Regions from separate parts of the Homo sapiens genome. Here region 2 is linked to region 1. Evidence: promoter capture Hi-C in 16 types of primary human blood cells and fetal thymus (Javierre and others, 2016). All regions are on one chromosome and are shown on one strand. The core of a region is centred on a gene start or on the middle of the fragment in contact, and the rest is flanking DNA. Distances in the headings are between cores, read along the strand shown.

What was found. The method cuts DNA at HindIII sites, captures the fragments that hold promoters and counts their contacts. A CHiCAGO score of 5 or more calls a contact.
Region 2: a contact is called between a fragment that was not itself captured here and the fragment with the promoter of H4C2 in region 1, in 1 of 17 cell types (neutrophils). The highest score is 9.2, in neutrophils.

Annotation. Positions count from the first base shown.
Region 1 is chr6:26,023,551-26,031,437 of GRCh38, reverse strand. H4C2 (H4 clustered histone 2) reads left to right here and starts at 4,155. Exons shown (of 1, transcript NM_003544.3): 1 at 4,155-4,542. The coding sequence starts at 4,186. The coding sequence ends at 4,497. RefSeq lists enhancers at 2,330-2,915, 2,916-3,500, 3,501-4,086, 4,063-4,382, 4,403-4,462 and 2 more. The HindIII fragment of the contact is 5,368 bases long and covers 154-5,521 here.
Region 2 is chr6:26,263,952-26,271,838 of GRCh38, reverse strand. H3C8 (H3 clustered histone 8) reads left to right here and starts at 426. Exons shown (of 1, transcript NM_003534.3): 1 at 426-921. The coding sequence starts at 455. The coding sequence ends at 865. RefSeq lists enhancers at 1,385-1,524, 2,298-2,894. The HindIII fragment of the contact is 3,575 bases long and covers 1,026-4,600 here.

The sequences.
Region 1 (7,887 bases), core at 2,906-5,405:
ATTAAGGTGCTATTTGGAGAGAAGCTGTGTAAGTCCACTATCATTCAGGCCTCTAGCTTGCTATGATTAGCATTTGTTTAAACAACTTTGTAAGAGTAAGGGAAAAATCTGGTAAGTAGTTAACTGGCGCTTACTAGGCATTTTTGCAAAGCTTTGAAAAGATTAGAAAATTGTGTCTTGCGAGTTCCAGTGTCTTCCTCAAAATGCTTAGGAAGATTTTCTCAGCTCAATACATAGTCCCCTAGGTTTTCTCATATATTATATATATATATATATATATATATACTGTTAAATTCATTTGGCTGTTAACATTAACCTGAAATTTATTCTGGTGCAAAATGTGAGGCAGGGATCTAACTGGCTCTCATTTTATCCATAGCTAGCTACCCACTTTAAATCTGTCAGTCTGTCGACCAAGCATAATTTAATCCCTTATATATGAATTTTTATATGTGTGGCTTTGCTTGTAAATAGTCTATCTGGTTGCATTGCTTTGTCTCCTCTAGGACTATGCACCATGACATGCCACATTCTTTTTTTCAGTACTTCTTGCCTGTAGTTATTAAAATCTAGAATTTACAAGTTTTAACCATTTTCTTTCTGTTGATCTTGCTTTTCGGTTTTGGAGGTTGGGGATTGAGTACTGGAAGAAAATTTAGAGGGATGGGAATACTGTACGCAAACAAAAGTAATATTTACTTTAAAATTTTTATATTTTGTATTTTTTTATCATATAGCTTTTACATCACATTTTACAGACTAACTTTAGAACAACCACAGAATGTCCAACATTAAAACTACTAATTCCAAAGACCTTGCCTCACATTCTTTTTTACAATAAATATTTTTTACACCTAACATTCTTTCTTGGCCTACATCTAGAATGTAAACTGATGTACCATACTAAAATCGCCTGACCAACTGTCAACAACAACAAATCACACACACAAAAGATTAAATTTGAATTGCATCGTTTACTTAAATTCATTTGTGTTCCAGCTTTTAATAAGGCAGTTTTTGGTTTATAAAGTAATATTTGCATTTTAAAAATTATGAAAATGAATATGTCAGTTTGTTTTATGATTCGTTTTTCTTGACTCTTATACAAGCGACTCTAACTGGCATAGACATTTGTTATCCACAGACAGTATAGATATGTTAGAGATGCCAATGGACTTGGTCTATGCCAAGGTGACTACTCACAAGCTCTGGGCCCAGCTGAAGGTCAAGTATTTTTTTTCCAGTTATAGATGTGCTGGATCTGATGTATAGCGCTTGACTTTTTATATTTTCTTTATCTGTAGGAAACAAATGTGTTGGAGGTACTGGGTCTGACGAATAGCATAAAAGAATAAAGTTACATTACTGTCTGAGGATCAGATGGACAGGGGGTGGTAGCTCAGTCCAGCTATTTTCCACTCCCTCACTTACATTCTTTGCCCCCTCCTCAACAGAACAAGGATTCTGCTGTAACTCTTCATTGACAGTTGATATTTAAAAATTAACGAATGGATGAAATTCTCATTTGTGAAAGAAAATTTATTGAGCATTTTGTATTTGTGAGTAGTGCAAACATTTTAATATTATATTAAGAATCTATTGTTTTGTATTAGAGGAGTAATTAAGGAGAGATTGGAGACAAAAAGGGGGTGTTGTTTGCAGAATATACCATCCAAAAATAGACCACTGTGGGATCAGGATTCTTTTGAGCTAAAGGCACTTCAAAAACAGCATTCAAGAAGGGAATTCTTCTAAACTTTTCTTTCTGAAAACAGGAGATAAAAGTTCCAATGTGAAAAATGCTCTGCTTGTACCAGGTGAAAAGACATATTCTTCAGCCCAGAGGCATAGATGAGATAATTCTGCACAAACACAGCAGGGAGTCATAGCCGAGAGACTTCTATACACAAACAAACCTTGTTAAAATAATCATATATTCCTTTAATCTCCTCATATGGTTTACTTTCCCACAATTGCCTCTCTTTAACTTAATGTGAAAGCATTTAGCTTTTGCCATTTCTTTGGGGCTTCACTTTTTTATGAGGGTTCTCCTGTCCCATAAAATTTACATTAAATACATTTGTATGCTTTCATTCTGCTAATCTGTTTTATGGCAAATGAATTATCAGGTCCAGCTGGAGACCCTAACAGAGTAGAGGTAAAATTTTGCCTCCCTACAAGATAGAGATTGTGTGCATTAAATGTTGTTTGTTCCCAGTTGTTCAGTTTGTCAGGCCTCTGAGCCGAAGCTAAGCCATCATATCCCCTGTGAACTGCACGTATGCCTCTAGATGGCCTGAAGTAACTGAAGAAACACAAAAGAAGTGAAAATGCCCTGTTCCTGCCTTAACTGATGACATTACCTTGTGAAATTCCTTCTCCTGGCTCATCCTGACTCAAAAGCTCCCCCACTGAGCACCTTGTGACCCCCACCCCTGCCAGCCAGAGAACAACCCCCTTTGACTGTAATTTTCCACTATCTACCCAAATCTTATAAAACGGACCCACCCCATCTCCCTTCGCTGACTCTTTTCGGACTCAGCCCGCCTGCACCCAGGTAGAATAAACAGCCTTGTTGCTCACACAAACCCTGTTTGATGGTCTCTTCACACGGACGCGCCTGAAACAGTTTAACAGGGTTTTTCCTGCCCAGTCACAACAAAGTGATGTTATGCTGCAGGCTGAAGTTTACAGCTAATGCTGTTGAAGTCTAAAATCAGTTTTGGTTTGTTAGATTTGGGTGAGATGGCTAAGATTCTCAGAGAAAGAAGTCAAGTTTGGGGTGCATTTTTCAGACTTAAAAATTTAGCAGTAGCCCTTGCAGTTTTTCCAATAGAAGTGATTTAAGAATGTTTTCAGGAAATTTAAAACAACAGTGAGAAGCGTGTATGGAGAGTTGAACTACACTCCAGACTTGGCTATAGGAAAGCACGAATGCTGCTATTGTATTGCACCTTGGAAAAGAGAACAAAGGAATATTTTCGGACAATTTTAACATGTCACATATGAAAAGCTAAACGGAATCTGTCAACACCTTGTACGTTATTACAGGCTGTGATTTTAAAAAAACAATCCTTACTAATACATACATAGTTGCTGCTAGCAATATAGTGTTGGGAGTAAAAACACGAAAATGAGAGTTCAGGACAATATCCCAACTCTGAGCAGATTTTTTTAAGTAGTAACATCTAAAATTAAACCATATTATGTAATATTTATTTCTTTTCCACAGTCTCTTCTCATGCCTCGTTCACATTAGCTAATTAAAAGTCCCCTGAGTATCATCATAACCCGATTTACAGATGAAGGCACGGTTGCAATGAGCTATCACCCTCTTCTGAATGAGACAGTACAGTGTGAAGGATAGCAAAACTCCACTCCCATCCTCTTAGGGCTCTGGCTGGACCAGCAAATTAAATTAATGTAAAATGGATTAACAGGAGAAAGGTATATGCATTTATTTAACACAGGTTTTACGTGACACAGGTGCTCTCATAAGGTAATGAAAGCCCAAAAAAAGCAGTTAGCTACTTATATAATGAATTGGACAATTAGTAAAATGTAAAAATGCGCTAAAGCAAAGGGATTTAGGCTAGAATATATAACTGTGTAGAGAAGCGCCCAGCAAGGGCTAGTGCAAGGTTTGTACAGAATTCTCTTGGCCTCAGCCTCCTATCCTTGAGAAGAATGTTGCTTTTTTTAAACTACAGTGAGAACATCTTTCATATGAGAATTTCACCTACTGCTTCTAAGAAACAGGTCAGCTTTCAAGAAAACATAAGGCCAGAGTGATCTTTTCACGCCTGCTCTTTTAAGTACCTTTGAATAGTCAATATGTCTTCAAGCACTTGAAAGACTTAAAAAGTTTACCACTCCGGCATATTAGTGAAAGCCCTTAATATAAGCCCTTATTAAAATTCTCAGTCGAGGGTATAAATTCAGATTCAAATAGTAGTGTCGTAAACGGGAGGGAAAAACTAAAGGGATTAAAAAGTGAAACTATTGTGTTCTCCCTCGCAGTCCTTAGGTCACTGCCCCTCGAGGGGCGGAGCAAAAAGTGAGGCAGCAACGCCTCCTTATCCTCGCTCCCGCTTTCAGTTCTCAATAAGGTCCGATGTTCGTGTATAAATGCTCGTGGCTTGCTTTCTTTTCGCGTACCTGGTTTTTGTTGTCAGCTGGTTAGACATGTCTGGTCGCGGCAAAGGCGGTAAAGGTTTGGGTAAGGGAGGTGCCAAGCGTCACCGAAAAGTGCTGCGGGATAACATCCAAGGCATCACCAAACCGGCCATTCGGCGCCTTGCTAGGCGTGGTGGGGTTAAGCGAATTTCCGGTTTGATTTATGAGGAGACTCGTGGCGTTCTCAAGGTGTTTCTGGAGAACGTGATCCGGGACGCCGTGACCTACACGGAGCACGCCAAGCGCAAGACTGTCACTGCCATGGATGTGGTTTACGCGCTCAAGCGTCAAGGACGCACTCTGTACGGCTTCGGCGGTTAATCTTTTCGTCAGTTTTCTTCCAATGGCCCTTTTCAGGGCCGCCCACTCCCTCTCAGAAAGAGCTGTGATTGTATTCTTTCGGATGGTAACATCTCAATGGCTTTACTCGGCTATTCTGCCTAGTATGTAGAACTATTATAAACCAGTTGGGAGAGACCAGGTTGTTTGGTCTGAGTGGCTGCTAAAGCAGAAATCAGCTAAGTAAACGAGGTCTCCGAGATAAGTGAGCTATAAACTTCAATGCTATAGTTTTGACATGTCAAGCAACTTAACGTGCAGCGCGAGTCCGATAAATGAGTAGCTCAGCTTTTTAGTTTTAAAAACGAGTTGTGCGTTATTTGTACGAGAGCCTAAGATGCTAGCTGCCTGGAACTGAGTAGGTGGATTAAAATGGGTGTCAGGTCTGTTTTCCCAGGCGTATCTGACTTAACGTCAGCAAAAGCTGTACTTTTAGCTTCCCTGGTAACACCTGCCGTCCTTAACCGCCCCCTGCCGGTAGCGCCAGAAGCCTTTACTTCCATTTCTAGTTGAGCTTGGCGTCCTGCTGAGTGACGTCACCTCCCCCTTCTCTGGAGTAGGACTGGCGGTTAAAGCTGCTTTGCTATTTTCAGTCCTCAGGCTGGAGGCTCCCCTAAGCAGGCTGCCTACGCAGTTCGTAAATTCCCACTTAGTAGACTAAGGGAGTCTGTTTTATAAATAAGGACTCAAATTTCTTCTGACTCCGAGGTCCGTGGCAGCAGCTATAAGATGGAAGCCCCCTCTGATGTAAGATTCTCAGATGACTTGCATCTTCACTGTACCTGTCAACCCAATAGTCTTCTATTCCTGCCTTAAATTGTAAATTCCAAAACTGATTTAATTGTGAAAGTTTCAAACTGTACGACCTAGGAAGTGTCAAAGTTAGGTGACCAGATTTTTAGAAGTCAGCCAAATATTCAGCATCTTTGATTTAGTAACAAATATATTGATGGCTACTTCAGCAAAAAAAATCAACTTTGTTTTCTGGTTACTTTGCTAACAAGCTTCTCCTGACAGGAGGATATAGTGAATAGGCAGTTGAATAAGTGAGTTCGGGTGAGAGGTCTGAGCTGGAGATAAAAATGTGTGAGTCATCAGCAGATAAATAAATGCTGAGACCAGATGAGATGGCTAAAAACTGAAACATAATGTAGTGCAGCATTGTTTGTAATAGTAAATGAGTGGCAACTGTAAAGTTTTCATCAGAAAGGACTAGAGTGATCTATACATCCATAAAATAGAGTATTTCTCTACACAGCCCTACTAAAGAATGAGAAAGCTGTACTCCACTACATACTCTGGTGTACTCTGGCTCAGTTCTTGGACTCCTCTTTTCTTGGCTAACTCAACTGGCCTCACCACTTACATGCTCTGTGCTCTGTCAAATAGTTTGTTCAACAGAACACCACGGCCTAGCTGTAAGTGCCACGTTAACTTCTAGCAATGCCAAAGCCTGTGATAGTGGCAGCTTCGGGCTGTTTCTCATTCCCGGGATGCCTAACCACCTCTCCAAATTCTATCAGTTTGCTTCCACCCACTTCAAGCTTCAGAACGAAACATAGAGCTTAAGAAATATAGGCCCGGCAAGGTGGCTCACGCCTGTAATCCCGGCACTTTGGAAAGCTGAGCCTGGTGGATCACCTGGGGTCAGGGGTTCGAGACCAGCCTGGCCAATATTGTGAAACCCCGTCTCTACTAAAAAAAAAAAAAAAATTAGCTGGGCATGGTTGCGGGCGACTGTAATCCAAGCTACTCGGGAGGGTGAGACAGGAGAATAGCTTGAACTCGGGAGGCAGAAGTTGCAGTGAGTTGAGATCGCGCTATTACACTTAGGCCTGGGAGACAAGAGTGAAACTGTGTCTCTAAATAAGTGTTTGCAATTATAAACCATCTCCCTGACCTTAAATCTCTAGACTCATATACAACTGCATATTTGATGTATCTAATTGAATAATGGGCATCTCGAACTTGTCCAAAATATGTTTATACGTAAACACCAAGTCTGTTCTTCCTCTGATATTTGTCATGTCAATCAATAGAACTCCATTCTTCAAGCAGCTTGGGCCAGGAATTGTGCAATATTGTTTGTCCTGAGCTTCTTACAACTTTCACCCAATGCAGTCAGCTCTGTTGAAAATCAATCAGAATACCTTTCATTGTTTTCTTTGCTGCTTCTCTAGGAGCAAGCTGCCATGGCGGTTTGTCTGAATGACCACAGTGACCCCAAACTGGTCTTTGTTTTCACTTTTAATCCCCCTGTCATACAGTTTTTTCTCTATCCAGCATCAACAGTGATCCTTTTTGAAGGTATTATGTCCACTGTCTGCTGAAAAGATTCCACTGGCTTTCCATCACCTTCATAATAAAAACCAGCATCCTTATCATAGCCTACAAGTAAGATGACCAACCATTACAGTTTGCCTGACTCTCAGGGGTTTCTCAGGGTGTAAGACTTACAGTGCTGAAACTTAGAAAGTTCCAAGCAAACTAGGATGAGCTGCTCAACCTACTAGATCTGTACTCTGGCTACCCTCTGACCTCATTCTCTTCGCAGTTCTTTCTCTTCACTGACCTTGCTGTTTCTGGAATGGACCAAGCATTTCCAGCATCAGCACCTTTATATCTATTCTTTCTCCCTAGAAGGGTCTTGTCCTGGATATCTGAATGGCTCTAGATCTCATTTCATTCAAGCCTCTCCTCAAATACCAACCTTACGAAAGAGACCTCCCATAATCATCCCTTGTAAAATAAGCTTTTCTGCTCATTTAGCATATATATATATAGTTGACTATCCTCAATAGCATATATATATAACATTTCCCCACCTAGAATTATATATGTAATAATATATTTAACAAAAAATACATATAACTAGATATATTTTATTTTGTGTTTGTTCTCTCTCCCCCAACTGGAATATATTTTTTGAAGGTAGGGACTTTGTTTTGTCCCAGAAGTATCCCTAGCACCTTGAACAGGGCTGACGTTTAACAGGTAGTTTATGGAGGTTTGTTGAATGAAAGGATGTGTGAATTTTCTATGTAAGTCTCCAGGCTCTCCACTAAGCCCACCAGAATGCTAACACAATCAATTCCCCATCTCATTCCTTGACCTGCCACTGCCTGAAGCAATCAGCGTGCAGTTTCTCTTTAGAAAATCTGGGGGATAGTCTAGGGGTTGCAAATTAAGCAACATTATCTTTGTTCTGAACAAGGACTGCATGAGTGTTAGGACTGAAGAAGGCCCAAGGTGGTGGTGGGTATGCCTAAGATGAGTATGACATATCAGCAATGCTATGAACATAGCAATGCTATGAAAGGCCAGGCAAAACGTAACAGGAGCTAGTCGTGGCTTATTGTTACAACGACTATA
Region 2 (7,887 bases), core at 1,564-4,063, 240 kb before region 1:
CAGGTACATCACCCAGGAATCCTGCCTTATAATGGTCAAAGGTTTCCAGCTAGCAGCAGTCCAGGTGACTCAAGAAAACGGCACAAGATAAACTTCTCAAAACGTGGTCCTCCGAATCTGGCCCCACAACACATCTACTGAATGAGAATTAGCGTCTTCCAAGTCTTAAAGTAGTCGTTTACGGACTACAGCTTGAGAAGCGCAGAATTAGAACTTTAAGAAGTTAACGTTCTTGGATCGCAGACTAACCGAGAAGAGAGGATTCAAAAATGAAGTGATTCATCCAATCAGATTTTCCAGTAATTCACCAATCACATCGTTGGACTCTTCAGCCAATGGTTTTGTTGCGCGGGTCTTTTGAAAATCAACAAGGCCAATTAGAATGTTTCTGAGTATATATAAGGGCAGTTTCCACTCTGCCAAGTGGCTGAGTTTTTCTTTCAGGTAGTCTGAGATGGCCCGCACCAAGCAGACTGCACGCAAGTCCACCGGTGGCAAAGCGCCGCGCAAGCAGCTGGCCACTAAGGCGGCTCGGAAAAGCGCGCCGGCCACCGGCGGCGTGAAGAAACCTCATCGCTACCGTCCCGGCACCGTGGCTCTGCGCGAGATTCGCCGCTATCAGAAGTCGACTGAGCTGCTGATCCGCAAGTTGCCTTTCCAACGCCTGGTGCGAGAAATCGCTCAGGACTTCAAGACAGATCTGCGCTTTCAGAGTTCCGCGGTGATGGCCCTGCAGGAGGCCTGCGAGGCCTACTTGGTGGGGCTCTTTGAGGATACCAACCTGTGTGCCATCCATGCTAAGCGAGTGACTATCATGCCCAAGGACATTCAGCTCGCTCGCCGCATTCGTGGGGAGAGAGCGTAGAGGTTTCCGGGCAGTAATTCTATCCAACTTAAAAAGGCTCTTTTAAGAGCCGCCTACTTTCACCCGAAAATAGCTGTGATTAACTAATCAAATCTTTGAAACTAAACATTGGTTTTAGTACTTAAGTCCTCATTTGATTGGCTAAAGTTAATGGTAAGCTTGCTATATTTGTTCCCGTGCTTTTTCCCGAAAGTGCCAGATTGTCAGCGTCCTTTTCTAAACTGGCTTTTAGGGGTTTGGAGCTTCGATTTGGTAGTGGAAGGGGCCACCTGGGGGCGTTTATATACATTGTCTCAAGCGTTAGTCGCGTTGTCTACTTACACCCATTATAGATGGGATTTTTTTTCGTTGTGTATTTCTGGTTAATCCCTTTTAAAACTTTACAGGTATGAGCATTGGCAGTTGAGAGTAGGTAGGGATATCCTTGGTTGCTGCTTTTTCGTGTCTGAAGCAGCTATTTCCACAATTCCCCCTTTTTTTAAACAGTTCTTGGTTTTTCTGTGAAATGATCCATTTTTTAATTCAATATTAGAAATTGGCGGCAGAAACGAAAGCCAGATTGGCCTCTACATTACTGGCAGCATGGGCATTACGTGGGAACTTGTTAGAAGCTCCCAGGGCATTACATGGGAGCTTGTTTCAATCCCCATCTAGGGCTGGAGTCAATCTGCATATACCTCAGATGATTCTCATGAACACTGATTTAGGAAGCCTAGGTTGTTGGTTTTGGTCTCATCAGTAAAGGCATCCTGCCTGTGAACTCTTACAAGGAGTGAGCTTTTGCAAAATGCATGTTTATTTATGTTACAGAATGAAATATTCTATGAAATGTTCTCTAAAGCAAGTGCACAGAACAATCCCCTAAAATAGTTTGATTTCTTTACAGATCAGTTTTCTCAATGTAACATTACAGTCACATGGGAAGGCTTTAGAAAAATCTTTACCTGGGGTTCAATGAGACTAATAGCAATCTAGAGTGGGCCCAGGGAATGGTAATTATTAAAATTCAGGTGCTTCTAACAGCTGGGGCTGAGACTCCTTGCTACATAAATTTTAATACTCTTATTAGCTCTGGTTTGACTCTAGGCTTAGCAGTTTTCTAATTGAATCAGTTTCCTTGTAGTTTGCCTTCAGAGAGAATATACTGGTCTCTAAAGACTTTCTGGCTTGCTTGACTATCTTTCAACACCTGGCTTTTATAAGAATTTCTTAGGGCAACACTAATGTAAGTTTTTTCTTTTTTGTTTTGTTTTGTTTTTTGTTTTTTTGAACCACCGAGGTCCTTTTAGTGATTGGAAGTATCAGGTTTTTAGGGATGTTACAAGGAGGAACACATACCATCCTGGGCTGCTTGGCATACAACCAAGATATGTTTTCATATAGAACCCTTCCTTTACAGATTAGCACAAGGCCCTGTTTGGGTATTCAGCAGATCCTTCTTTATGATCTTTATTAATTTAGCAACTTGTCATTTTTTTTCACATATTGCTTTTATTTTAAAAACTTATTTGACATTCCAGAATATATGGGAAAGGAGATAATAGTTTAATAAAACCTATGTTCCTCTCATCCAGCTTCAATAACAACATTGGCTAAGTGTTTTATCTATTGATTTTTGTAAAGCAAATAATGAAACTGCCTAATGGGTTCACCTTGCCCACTGCCTAGACAAAGCTGATTTATCTAGGCAGGGAATTGCAATAGAGAAAGTAATTCACGCCGAGCCAGCTGTGCGGGAGACCGTAGTTTTATTGTTACTCAAATCAGTCTCCCCAGCATTCCAGATGGGGGGGAAGCCGATGAACCAGGAGTCCTGATTGGTCAGGTCAGAGATGTCATTATAGGGAGCTGAAGGTGTCTCCTTGGGCTGAGTCAGTTTCTGGGTGGAGGCCACAAGATCGGATGAGTCAGTTTACCAATCTGGGTGGGGCCAACTGATCCATCAGGTCTGCAAAATATCTCAAGCACTGATCTTAGGAGCAGTTTACGTGGGGTCAGAATCTTGTAGGTTCCAGCTGCAGGACTCCTAAACCATAATGTGTGTGTTTTTTTTTTTCTTTGAGACAGTCTCACTGCGTTGCCCAGGATGGAGACTGTAAACTCTGCCTCCCAGGTTCGAGCGATTCTCCTGTTCAGCCTCCCAAGCAGCTGGGATTACAGGCGCGCGCCACCATGCCCAGCCAATTTTTGTAGTTTTAGTAGAGACGAGGTTTCCTCATATTGGCCAGGCTGGTCTCGAACTCTGGACCTCAAGTGATCCACCCGCTTTCGCCTCCCAAAATGTTGGGATTACAGGCGTGAGCCATTACGACCTACCCCTAAACCATAATTTCTAATCTTGTGAGTAATTTGTTAGTCCTACAAAGGCAGTCTAGTCCCCAGGCAAGGAGGTTTGTTTTGGGAAAGGGCTGTTATCATATTAGTTTTAAACTATAAACTAAGTTCCTCCCAAAGGTAGTTCAGCCTACACCCAGGAGTGAACAAGGACAGCTTGAAGGTTAGAAGCAAGATGGAGTTGGTTAGGTCAGATCTCTTTGTCTCAGTTACAATGTTGCAATGACAATTTCAATATCATTTCATCTATTTTATATATGTTATCTGCTATTTAACACCTTATTATGGACCAGGTGCCTTGGCTCACTCCTGTAATCCCAGCACTTTGGGAGGCCGATGTGGGAGGATCACATGAGGTTAATTCTTGACAAACCTGGCCAACTTGGTGAAACCCCATCTCTACTAAAAATATAAAAATTAGCTGGACCGGGCCTGGTGGTGCACGCCTGTAATCCCAGCTACTGGGGAGGCTGAGGTAGGAAAATCTCTTGAACCTGGGAGGCGGAGGTTGTAGTGAGCCAAGATCATGCCACTACACTCCAGCCTGGTGACAGAGCGAGACTCCATCTCAAAAATAAAAACAAAAATAAATTATGATGCCATCATTACTTTTATAACAAATAGTATTTCTTTTTTAAAAATTTAATATGATCCATTTTGGTTGACATATTTCTTCAACATTGATTTTTATTTACTGCAAACAACACTGGTTGAGAATTTACAATGTACCAGATGCTGGTCTGTGCATTGGAAATACACCCAGAGAACAAAACACAAAATTTTTGCTTTCATGGAATTTACATTTGAGTCTGGAATAGACAGAAAATAAACTAGATATGTTTATGTAATATGTTAGATGGTGAGAAGGAAAAAAAAATAGAGCAAGACTAAGGAGTGTCATGGGAAGCTGAAATTTAGATAAGGCAACCAATGAAGACCCCACTAAGAAGATAATATTTCAGCAAAGAGCTGAAAGGTGAGGAAGCAACCTGTGCGGATGTGTTCAGGGAGAAAAGGAGGGAGACTCCTGAGGCACCATGGTGACTATGGGGAATGAGCAGGGGACAGTAGGAAATGAAGGTGGAGAAAGGGCAGAATAATTTTCCCTTCAATTCCCACCTCACACAGGTTCTTAGTTGAAACAAACCCATGTAACAAAAGACAGATTCACAAATGAAAAACAAGCAGAAGTGTATTAACATATATATTACATATACATGAATGACACCTAGGGAATGAGTACACATTGAGGTGGCTTTGAATTCCAGCTTTTGTGTAGTGTCTTCAACAAAGAACAGTGAATTTTTAGATAATTTAGAAGACGAAGGAGAAGTACTTTGAGTGTCCAGGGGCGGCAATGTTGGGGAAAGCAAACATAGATAAAGGGTAGTTAGTAAAGCTTGCTTTATAGAATCTTCTGGTGCATCACCAGGCCCATAAGAGTGAAAGCTCTTTTCTGTACTTCTTTTGTTCTCCCCAATAGTGTAAACCAAAAAGTGACCGAGCAGATCTCCACTGATTCACAGGTTTATTTTTGCCAAGGTTGAAGATGCATCTAGGAGAAAGAAACACAAGTTACACAAAGTCTATGGCCTGTGAGGCCCAGGTGGGCAGATCACTTGAGGTCAGGAGTTCGAGACCAGTTTGGCCAACATGGCGAAACTCCATCTCTACTTAAAAAATACCAAAAAATTAGCCATGCATGGTTGCACGTACCTGTAGTCCCAGCTGCTCTGAAGGCTGAGGCATGAGAATCGTTTGTACCTGGGAGGTGGAGGTTGCAGTGAGCCGAGATCATACCACTGCCCTCCAGTCTGGGCGACAGAGTGAGACTCTGTCTCAAAAAAAAAAAAAAAAAAGAGTTTAGTATATTCTTATATAAAAAAGACGTAGAAAAGTTAAAATGGATAAAGGGAATGACTGCCAGAGGACAGGAGGGAATGTGGTAGACAGCTGTAATTTTAAAAATGGTGGATGGGGAAGAACTCACAACTGAGATAAGACTGGGAAAAGAAAATAACTTTTTTTTTTTTTTGTACAGACGAGGCTTCACTATGTTGCTCAGGCAAGTCTCAAACTCTTGTGCTCAAGGGATCCTCTCACTTTGGCCTCCAAAAGTGCTGGGGCTACCAGACCTGAGCTACCACACCAGGCCAAGAAAATAACTTTCATCTGAGGAATGGGAGTCATTTTAAATTATCAGGCCCACAGTAACATTAAAATGAGACAGCAATCACAACCTACTCCCCTCTTTGAGCTATGTATTCATCTCTAGATACTGCTTGTTATTGTTATAAGTAGCTATAAGTTTATCTAATAATGCCACATCCCACACTGTAACCCACACCCTGTAGCTTTACAATGTATAGCCAATAACTAATTAATGCTATTTCTGTAAACCAAGGAAAATTCCTGACAAAAAATTTTGTATCAGCCCACCTTCTGTCCCCCCTTTTTTGCCTTTAAAAACCTATTTTTAACAAAGGCCAGTGGAGCTCATATCCAAGATTACTTGGGCCTGAGATTTCTGAGCTGCTGTGCTGACTTTGGCTCAAGTAAATTCTTTTTTTTTTTTTTTTTTTTGAGACAGAGTCTTGCTCTGTCACCCAGGCTGGTGTGATCTTGGCTCACTGGGTTAACGCCATTCTCCTGCCTCAGCCTCCACAGTAGCTGGGACTACAGTGCCCGCCACCATGCCCGGCTAATTTTTTGGTATTTTTAGTAGAGACAGGGTTTCACCATGTTAGCCAGGATGAGTCTCCATCTCCTGACCTTGTGATCCTCCCGCCTCGGCCTCCCAAAGTGCTGGGATTACAGGCATGAGCCACCGTTCCTGGCGCCAATTCTTTTTTTTTTTTGAGACGGAGTCTTGCTCTGTCACCCAGGCTGGTGTGCAGTGGTGCGATCTCGGCTCACTGCCACCTCTGCCTCCTGGGTTCAAGTGATTCTCCTGCCTTAGCCTCCTGAGTAGCTGGGACTACAGGCGCATGCCCCCATACCTGGCTAATTTTTGTATTTTTAGTAGAGACGGGGTTTCACCATGTTGGCCAGAATGGTCTCCATCTCCTGACCTCGTGATCCACCCTCCTTGGCCTCCCAAAGTGCTGGGATTACAGGCGTTAGCCACCGCGCCCGGCCATAAATTCTTTAAGTTATGATTTGTGCCTCTGCATCTTTCTTTTAGGCCAACAAGGCTGAAGGAAATCAACTATTTCATCCCCAAGTATACTTCTTTGACATATTTTGAGATGGCTCTTTGGAGGGTCTGCAAACAGAAGTTGCCCTGCAGAGCTGCCTTTTGTGGAGATGTGCATCTGTAGAGAAAACCTGCTTTGGTGCTGCCAGGGTTTTTTTCTGAGGCTTTACCTTGTCCAATCTAGGAAAGATTAAGTGTCTGACACCAGGCTGGGCGCAGTGGCTCACGCCTGTAATCCCAGCATTTTGGGAGGCCGAGGCAGGCAGATTTGAGGTCAGGAGTTAGAGACCAGCCTGGGCCAATGTAGCGAAACCCCGTCTCTACTAAACACACAAAAATTAGCTGGGCATGGTGGTGGGCGTCTGTAATCCCCGCTAGTCAGGCGGCTGAGGCAGGAGAATTGCTTGAACCCAGGAGGCGGAGGTTGCAGTGAGCCGAGATTGTGCCATTGCACTCCAGCCTGTGCAACAGCGCGAGACTCCCTCTCAAAAAAAAAAAAAAAATCTGAGTCTGACACCTTTAAAGGTCTGAAAGAAACATTTACTATATATGTATTCTTCTTGAGGGCTGTTACCTATGAGTTTTCATCTACATAACAAGACCACCTTTGTTAGCAAAGCCCTCCCATAACCTGTCTTGCATGATTGACCACCCTAACCTGTTTTTGGCCATGCTCTGAGTCCCCATTCTTTAACCTAAAGATGGCATTTAAGCTTCTGTACCCCCTGCTGGGGTTGGGGTAATTACTCTGTGGTTCTCCCTCCTGCATGTTAATAAACTTGTGTGCCTTTCTCTCCTATTAATCTGTTTTTTGGTAATTGATTTTTGAGAAAAACTTCAGAGGGTGAAGGCGAAGATTTTTCTTGGTCCTGACAAGACTGAGCAGAGAAGAGAGTGAGTTCTTTATACAGCTGTAGGAAGATCATACCAGAGAGAAGAAACATTGATTCATGGATCCTGAGTTGGGTGCATATTTGGGCTATGGACATTGTTCTGATAGCCAACTACATAAAACCAGGGCCTTTGTTTTTCTTAAGCTGGAATTTCCAGGTAACTCAGTACTGATTTATACTTTTTTTTTTTGAGACGGAGTTTCGTTCTTGTTGCCCAGGCTGGAGTGCAATGGCACGATCTCGGCTCTCTGCAACCTCCGCCTCCCGGGTTCAAGTGATTCTCCTGCCTCAGCCTCCTGAGTAGCTGGGATTACAGGCATGTGCCACAATGTCCAGCTAATTTTTGTATCTTTAGTAGAGATGGGGTTTTGCCATGTTAGTCAGGCTTGTTTCCAACTCCTGACCTCAGGTGATCCACCCACCTTGGCCTCCCAAAGTGCTGGGATTACAGGAGTGAGCCACCGCGCCCTGCCTTCTTTTTTTTTTTTTTTTTTTTTTGAGACAGAGTCTCACTCTGTTGCCCAGGCTGGAGTGCAGTGGCAGGATCTCGGCTCACTGTAACCTCCGCCTCCCAGGTTCAAGCACTTCTCCCTGCCTCA